Linked DNA regions of Homo sapiens: region 1 is linked to region 2. The links are contacts of gene promoters, found by promoter capture Hi-C in human tissues and cell types (Jung and others, 2019). All regions are on one chromosome and are shown on one strand. Each heading gives the region's core, a stretch centred on a gene start or on the middle of the fragment in contact. The rest is flanking DNA. Distances are from core to core; before and after follow the strand shown.

What was found. Contacts are between HindIII fragments. The study calls those that stand out against the background at their distance.
Region 1: a contact is called between the fragment with the promoter of BEST2 here and the fragment with the promoter of RAD23A in region 2, in 1 of the 25 tissues and cell types used here (spleen).

The regions. Positions count from the first base shown.
Region 1 is chr19:12,749,592-12,753,847 of GRCh38, forward strand. BEST2 (bestrophin 2) reads left to right here and starts at 2,200. Exons shown (of 10, transcript NM_017682.3): 1 at 2,200-2,248; 2 at 2,951-3,153; 3 at 3,669-3,763. The coding sequence starts at 3,002. The HindIII fragment of the contact is 8,475 bases long and covers 1-4,256 here.
Region 2 is chr19:12,944,067-12,948,269 of GRCh38, forward strand. It overlaps RAD23A (RAD23 nucleotide excision repair protein A), which reads left to right and starts at 1,796. Exons shown (of 9, transcript NM_005053.4): 1 at 1,796-1,954; 2 at 3,782-3,943; 3 at 4,111-4,203. The coding sequence starts at 1,883. It overlaps CALR (calreticulin), which reads left to right. Exons shown (of 9, transcript NM_004343.4): 9 at 1-423. RefSeq lists enhancers at 1,574-2,266, 1,678-1,897, 3,213-4,203 and silencers at 1,958-2,037, 2,048-2,237, 2,258-2,317, 2,289-2,583. The HindIII fragment of the contact is 31,996 bases long and covers 1-4,203 here.

The DNA of each region.
Region 1 (4,256 bases), core at 950-3,449, 190 kb before region 2:
TGAGCCGAGATTGCGCCATTGCACTCCAGCCTGGGCAATAAAGTGAGACTCCGTCTCAAAAAAAAAGTGTTCAGACCCAGAGTCTGGGTGTGCCAGGGTGTGTGTGTAAGGGGAACCCCACCAGGAGCCTAGACTTGTCACTCCAACTCCCTGGGGTGTGCACAAGCAGGTGTGGGCCTGTTGGGGTGGCATGTGTAAACAAACACGATGGTACAGCCGGCTCCGCGCCAAACTGCCAGGATCCAAATCCCAGCTGTGCTACGAACAAGATGAGATGTGACATCGGAGCCTCAGTTTCCCTACTTAGATAGTAAGATGACCAACTTAGCATGCCCGTAAGGATTCCATGAGATGAAACACGCAAGGCGTTTATACCAGCACCAGACAGGAAACCGCAAGAAATGTTTGTTATTTTTCGTTGTCACAATTAGTAAGCATATCAAATAGCCCAGGAAGCCTGCCCCCAGCCCCTGCGGGAATTCAGCAGTCGGAAGTGTGTGGGGATGCGGGTGAGCTGGGGTAGGGAGGATGAAAAGGAGGAGCGGGCTTCAGTGAATGCAAGGACACTTCCTAGGGAGTGAGGGCTGCTGATCGAGAACTGAGCTCATCAGCACCGAGCCTGCCACCGCCTTGCCAGGTTCCGCAGCTGACGGCACCGCCCCAGCTGCCCCCTCGCCCCCATTTATGGGCTGTCCGGCAGCTGGACAGCGAAGGCATGGGTCACAGGGTGACCAGCCCAGGCGGGTTCCTAATTACTCCGGGCAGGGTGAACATCTGCCAGTCTGGGAACACGGCGTCCCAGCCTGCTGGGCTTGGAACCTCGGGCGGGGCTATGTAGAATGCACGAGGGGCTCCTGAGCACTCTAGGATGCCCATCCCAGGGTTTGACCCCTGAACTTCTGCCCCTCCCACACCAATCTGTGTGTTAATGTTCTTCAGGCTGGGCAATGGAGGGGGAGTGGGTACTGTTTGTACCAGGCTGGGAGTGTCCCCTTTAGAGGTGTGTCTGTGAAGAATGAACATCTGCCCAGAATCCATGCCAAATGCAGGACAAGGTTTTGTGTCCCCAAGCTTGTGTGTTCATGGCAATGCTGAGAGTATCTGAGACCTGTGGGTGTGGGTGTGGGCCTGCCGCCGGGAGGGAGCGTTGGAAAGGGGGTTGCCTTCACATATTGGTGTACAAATGCTGGTGAATTTCACCAGCGGTGATAGCTAGGGGACCCTTGAGGGAGGGGTGGCTGTTGTGTGTGTCTTTGCAAGATTGGTGAACCTCAGGCCCCGCTCTGAGCCTGGGATTGTGTGCCACCGCACTGAGGAAAGGGTTTTTGCATTTGGTGTGTGATCATGGCTGCATCTTTGCACAGGGAAGATCGGGAGTAAAACCTCCTTGCAGTGGAGTATGACTGTGTGTGTGAAGGCATTCTGAGGTCTGGGTGGGGTCTGGCACTTGGCTGGTTGTGTGGGTGTCTTTGTTACATGGCGTGATCATGACGGAATTCAGACCGTTGGGAGAGCCGTGTGTATGAAAGAGGAGAGCCTAGTATGTCAGGGTCCACCTGCCTTATATATGCGTGATGGAGGCAGGAGGGGTCGAGGTAGGTGTGTCTTGTGTGACCCTGGAAGGTTCTGTGACAGTGTGTACTGCTCCTCTGGGTAACCATAGTTATGTGAGGCTGTCTTTTTGTTTTTTCAATAGAGATGGGGATCTCCCTATGTTGCCCAGGCTGGTCTCGAACTCCTGGCTCAAGTGATCCTCCCACCTAAGCCTCCCAAAGTGCTAAAATTACAAGTGTGAGCCATCGTGCCTGGCTGAGGCTGTCTTAAGAGCAGCTAGATTTGCTTCTGGGACTATGATGTGTGTTTCTGCGTGCATCTCTGTGACACTGTGTGATTACAGGTGACTGTGAAGTGACCCAGCCTCACTGAGCAGTGTGTGTGTTTCTGGGACTGGGAAAAAGACCATCCCTGCCTCCTCCCCCAACCTCTGGGTTCCAGATCCCTAGGACCTGCCAGTGAGCGACTGGGAGGGGAACAGGGAGGGGCGAGGGAGGACAAGGCGGATTTCTCCCCCCGTACCAGGTAACAAACTTGTGGGACTCCAAACAAAATTCTGAAGCTACAGCCTAGCCGAGGGAGGAGGACCAGGAAAGGGAGGCACGCCCACTCCCCAGCCCCACCCAACGCCAAAGCCACCCGCCCATTCCATCCCTGTCCCTGTGGGTCCTTGCACCGGCCACCTTCAACACAGGTGAGATGAGCCCAGGCTTGGGGAAATAGGGGGCCCTGAGGGAAGAGGGAACCTGCGGGCAGGAATGCATCCGGAGTCCTCCCGGGGCGGGGAGTGGAGGGCTTGGAAGGCTGGAGGGGAACGGAGAGAGGAAAGGTCAAGGCGGATCCGGGAGGAAAAGGGAGTGGGGGGAGCCAGGGCAATTAAGCAGAAGGTGCACAGGCTGGGGCAGGGGGGCTAGGGGACCTGGAGGCTTAGGGACAGGGCTTCAGAGGGAGTGCAGGGAGCAGAATGGGTCAAGACTGGGAGCTGGGGAAGTGGAGAAGGGGGAGCCAGAAATAGGGGCTGAGGGAGAGAATTTGGGAGAGGTGGAGCCTTGAGAACCTAGAAACTCAGGTGCTGGGGACTTGCGGAATGGGGCATGCTACAGGTGGCCTCTGGGTGAAGGGGATCGGGCAGAGGGTGACTCGGGAGCTGACTGCAGGGACTCAAGGGTCTTGGTGGTGGGGGACGGCAGTTACCAGAGCCCACGGCCAGGAGTCCAGGGAAGGGGACAGCCTGAGATGAAGGTCAGGGAGGGGCACTGGGGGCTGGACTAGACTGAGTAAAGCTGGGAGGAGAAGGCAACTCAGGCAAGGGTCAGGACTGAAGGGGTGGCGGGCCGGAACATGGGTGGAATCCCTGTGCTCAGTTATCCCCGCACCTCTCCACCCACACCCGCAGCCCCCACCCGGGCCACCCACTCTCCCTTGGCCACACCTGCCGGGTGCCACGATGACCGTCACCTACACAGCCCGAGTGGCGAACGCCCGCTTCGGTGGCTTCTCCCAGCTGCTGCTACTGTGGCGTGGGAGCATCTACAAACTCCTGTGGCGAGAGCTGCTCTGCTTCCTTGGGTTCTACATGGCGCTGAGTGCTGCCTACCGGTGAGGCTGCCCTGAGGTGCTCATGTTCTAGCGGAGGGGGGGCAGCTATTATATATATATAATATATAAAAATTATAAAAATATAGAGATATATAAGTATATATATCTATGTTTTTTAAACTGAGATGGAGTCTCACTCTGTCACCCAGGCTGGAGTGCAGTGGCATAATCTTCTCTTACTTCCACCTCTGCCTCCCGGGTTCAAGCGATTCTCCTGCCTCAGCCTCCCGAGTAGCTGGGATTATGGGTGCCAGCCACCATGCCTGGCTAATTTTTTTGTATTTTTAGTAGAGATGGGGTTTCACCGTGTTGACCAGGCTGGTCTCAAACTTCTGACCTCAAGTGATCCTCCTGCCTCGGCCTCCCAAAGTGCTGGGATTACAGGTGTGACCCATAGCACCCGGCTGGGGGCAGCTATTATAAAAGAAGCCAGGGTGAGGGGCACAGCAAGAGAGATCTGAAGCTGGGGATGGAGTCACCCTTGTGACCTGTGACCCCTCATCTCTATCCCGCAGCTTTGTGCTGACCGAAGGGCAGAAGCGCTACTTCGAGAAGCTTGTGATTTATTGTGACCAGTATGCCAGCCTCATCCCTGTCTCCTTCGTGCTTGGTGCGGTCCAACCCCAAGTCCCCCGTTCCCATGTCCCTGAGAAACCCATATCCATTCATGCCTTTTGAGGAGCCCCCATTCCTGCCCCTCTGAGATCCCCCCCCTCAAATCCAACCCCGACAGCACTGCCCACCCATTTTTGGATCCATATCATGAAGATGCCAGATGTGGCTCTACACTCTGAGACCTGGGGTGTCACCTGGGGTCACAGTGCCCCCTGAGGTGCCCCCAGGAGAGCTCCATCTCACACACAGGACTTATTCCTGGTCACCCTGGGGATTCTCACCAGTGTCTGTTGTGTTATTAGGGGGGACAAACCCCTAACCCTCCAGGGACCCCATAGGACTCCATCCTCTCAATTCCAGCCTGGGGGCATTTCTCTGACAAGTCTTGGACCCCTAGTGACCACAAGTGACCCTAGCCTGCCCAAGGCTCCCTGATGTAGACCCTGTCCCCAACCCCTTCAGAAGTTCCTGGCTCAGGGGCCGGGTGT
Region 2 (4,203 bases), core at 546-3,045:
TCTCCCCCACCCCCTCCCCGCCCTTTTTTTTTTTTTTTTTTAAACTGGTATTTTATCTTTGATTCTCCTTCAGCCCTCACCCCTGGTTCTCATCTTTCTTGATCAACATCTTTTCTTGCCTCTGTCCCCTTCTCTCATCTCTTAGCTCCCCTCCAACCTGGGGGGCAGTGGTGTGGAGAAGCCACAGGCCTGAGATTTCATCTGCTCTCCTTCCTGGAGCCCAGAGGAGGGCAGCAGAAGGGGGTGGTGTCTCCAACCCCCCAGCACTGAGGAAGAACGGGGCTCTTCTCATTTCACCCCTCCCTTTCTCCCCTGCCCCCAGGACTGGGCCACTTCTGGGTGGGGCAGTGGGTCCCAGATTGGCTCACACTGAGAATGTAAGAACTACAAACAAAATTTCTATTAAATTAAATTTTGTGTCTCCCTCCTGTGTCTCCTTCTGGGGAAAGACAGACTTAAGGAAACCCAGCAGTGGTCTTTTTGGGGGGGGGGGGGGTTTCCAGTATATCTCCTTTTTCAGCTATTGCTAGAGAGGTTGCTGAGTGTTCCACAAGATTCCAGGGACCCTTATTTACCCCATAACCCTCAAAACCAACGGGGGAATGGCTGTTGCTGCTGTAAATACTCCACATACTAACTTACTGAATCCTTGAACCTAACTGGTAAGTTTTGGTTCTGCTTATTTATTTATTTTTAAGATAGACTCTCGCTCTGTTGTCCAGGCTGGCGTACAGTGGCTCAATCTGGTTCACCCTGCCCCTTAAACTGGCCTTTTTCATGCTTCTATTCCTTTGGGGTCCTGTGGCTCAGCCCAACCCCTCTGGGATGCCTCCAGGACTGGTAGATCCAAGGGAGAATTCTGTATTTAATGTAGTGAGGCTTTGAAAGTTAACATCTTTAAATACTTCTGGGGTCAGATTAGGTATAGTACAACAAAGTACTCCTGCCCGGAGACCCAAGAATGAAAATTGTAGGTTCATTCCAAAACTCCAGATCCCTAAAGAATGAATGAGGCTACAAAATGGCACCTTGCCCCCGCTTCCAACTTAAGGTTTTTTTTCTGTGCTTGGTGGCCTTTCAGGTATTTCTAGTTTTGAGTAACTTTCACTTTGACTGCTCTACAAGGGTTCCTGCCAGGATACCCAGACCAGAATAAAACTCATTTGGGGGCCGGGTACGGTGGTTCACGCCTGTAATCCCAGCACTTTGGGAGGCCGAGGCGGGTGGATCACCTGAGGTCAGGAGTTTTGAGACCAGCCTGGCCAACACGGTGAAACCCAATACAAAAAATTATCCGGGCGTGGTGGGGGGTGCCTGTAATCCCAGTTACTCGGGAGGCTGAGGCAGGAGAATTGCATGAACCCGGAAGGCGGAAGCTGCAGTGAGCCGAGATCGCGCCACTGCACTCCAGCCTGGGTGACAGAGACTGTTTGAAAGAAAAAATTCTCATTTGGAAGAGGCAAAATGAGGTTTTTACAGAAGAAATACAAATGTCTGTAACCAGTACAGGTACATAAAAACTTTGTTAAAAATTCATTTGAGCGTGAGAGTGGGGACACCAGAGTCACTTTGCAGCCCCGTGACGTCACCGATAACGGGCATGGCGTCACTCAGGAGACCACGTGTGCGGGCCGAGCAAGAAGCCCCGCCCACAGCGCGGAGTTTAGTCTGCGCGTGCCTCGCTCGAGAACGCGCTCGTGCGCATGCCCACAAAGGCCAAGGAGGGAGTGCGCAGGTCACGTGCGCCGGTGGTCAGCGCGCGCATTGCCTGCCCCGGAAGTGGTCGGCGCGCGGCGCGGCGCGCCTGGGCGCTAAGATGGCGGCGGCGTGAGTTGCATGTTGTGTGAGGATCCCGGGGCCGCCGCGTCGCTCGGGCCCCGCCATGGCCGTCACCATCACGCTCAAAACGCTGCAGCAGCAGACCTTCAAGATCCGCATGGAGCCTGACGAGACGGTGCGGGCCGGGCCGGAGCCCGGGGGCGGGAGCGACGGGTTTCGGGGGTGGGGTGGGGGCGGGGAGGCTAGAATCCCAACGGGAGGGGCAGGGAGGACGGCGCGGGTCGGCCCTGCCCAGACCCCCGACCTGCCCGACTTTCCTGGACCCCCCGATGGTCTTTGGCCCAGCCCCCAGCCGATCGGGCGGCGCTCCTGCGCCGGTCTCCGGGCGAGGCCCCACCCCCGGGGCGCTGGCCAGGCCCCGGCTCCAATGTCAGCGCTCTCGCGGGGCGCGGGAGTCACAAGCTCGGATTCCTGGGCAGGCCAAGCTCTCCAAGACTGGGCTCCACGTTCCCAGCTTTGCAGGCGTCTCCTTGGGACACTGGTGGTCGAATCTAGGAGTAATGACCAGGAGATACTGAGTAGTGACGACAACAACGATGTTAATGATAATAAACGGGTCTCAGTCTTTATAATTTTGGTGGTCCGTGTTTGTTGGCCGTTTACTTTTTATCAGTCACCGAGTGTTGTAGTGTTGTTTTACCGCTCTGCAAAACGGGCTTGTCATTGGGGACCTCTGATCATTTTACAGATGTGGAAACCTAGGGATTGAGGAACTTTGCCACAGTCACACACAAGTAATGGCAGAGCTGGGATTCAAATTCGGTTCTGCCTCGTGTGAGCGTCCACGATATAAATATTATGCTGCCTTTTTAGTCAAAAGTAGAATTAGGACCTAATTCAAACATACTGAATGTCTATTGGGTACTTGGCGCTTTTTGCATAGTGAGGGAGACATTGAAGTCCACTTTTTGTAGAAAAGGAAACACACATTTTTTGATCCGCTCAAGTGTTTGGCTTTGGGCAAGTTAACCTGCCTACCTGTCTGTGCCTCCGTTTTCTCAAATATCAAATGAACCGGTCGCCTGCTGGCTTCCGCCTGTAATCCCAGCACTTAGGGAGGCAGAGGGAAGAGGAGCCCTTGAGCCTAGGAATTCGAGATCATCCTGGCAACACAGTGAGACCCCGTTCTCTACAAAAAAAAGAAACAAAAATCAATAAATAAAATGAGACCAATTAAACGTATTTCATAGGAAACTTAAAAGGTATGACACATATACATTTACAGTAGCACTATTGGCCAGGCACGGTGGCTCATGCCTCTAATCCTGATGATTTGGGAGGCAGAGGCAGGAGGATTGCTTGAGGCCAGGAGTTTGAGACCAGCCAGTCTAACATAGGGAGACTCTTATCTACAAAAAAAAATTATTTTTAATTAGTCTGGAGTGGTGGTGTGTACCTTTAGTCCTAGCTACTCCCAAGGCTGGACAAGAGTACCAGTTGAGCCCAGGAGTTTGAGGCTGCAGTCAGCGATGATCGTGCCACATCAATCCAGCATGGGCGGCAGCGAGATCCTGCCTCTTAAAATTAAAAAATATCACTATTAACTATTAGTCACTTATTGTCCAAGGTAGAGTGTAGAGTGGGGGACTGTCCCCTTTATTCTGTTAATTATACTTTATACTACCCGAAATTACATTTTCTTCACATTAGTGTTCTCTCATTGAGAGCAGGGACTTACTTGTGTTGAGTTTGTTCTGTGCTGTGGCCTCTGTGTCTAAAACAGCACCTGGCACATAATGGGTGTTTAGTATAAGTAAATACTGTGTTGAATGGCATGATGATTGAATGAATTCAAATCTAGCATGCTTTAGATGCTGAGAAAGCTTAAAAAACCCAGCGTGCTTGCCTTTCTGCCATCAGGGCTGGCAGTTTCTCTGTCCTAAACTAGAAGGGAAAAGAGAATCTTGGGGTCTCCAGTGACTGTCTGTACCACTCCCTCTAGGTGAAGGTGCTAAAGGAGAAGATAGAAGCTGAGAAGGGTCGTGATGCCTTCCCCGTGGCTGGACAGAAACTCATCTATGCCGGCAAGATCTTGAGTGACGATGTCCCTATCAGGGACTATCGCATCGATGAGAAGAACTTTGTGGTCGTCATGGTGACCAAGGTGGGTGACGTGTGCTGGCTGGGAGGGTGGGTGGACGAGCTGGGGAGCTGGCAAAGAGCCTGTGTGCCCAGGAGAGATTAGCTGTGAACAGGGCGGGGCCACAGCGGAGCGGGTTGTTGGGTCTGATAGGGTTGCTGATGCCAGCTCCCTTTTTCTTGCTGTTGCAGACCAAAGCCGGCCAGGGTACCTCAGCACCCCCAGAGGCCTCACCCACAGCTGCCCCAGAGTCCTCTACATCCTTCCCGCCTGCCCCCACCTCA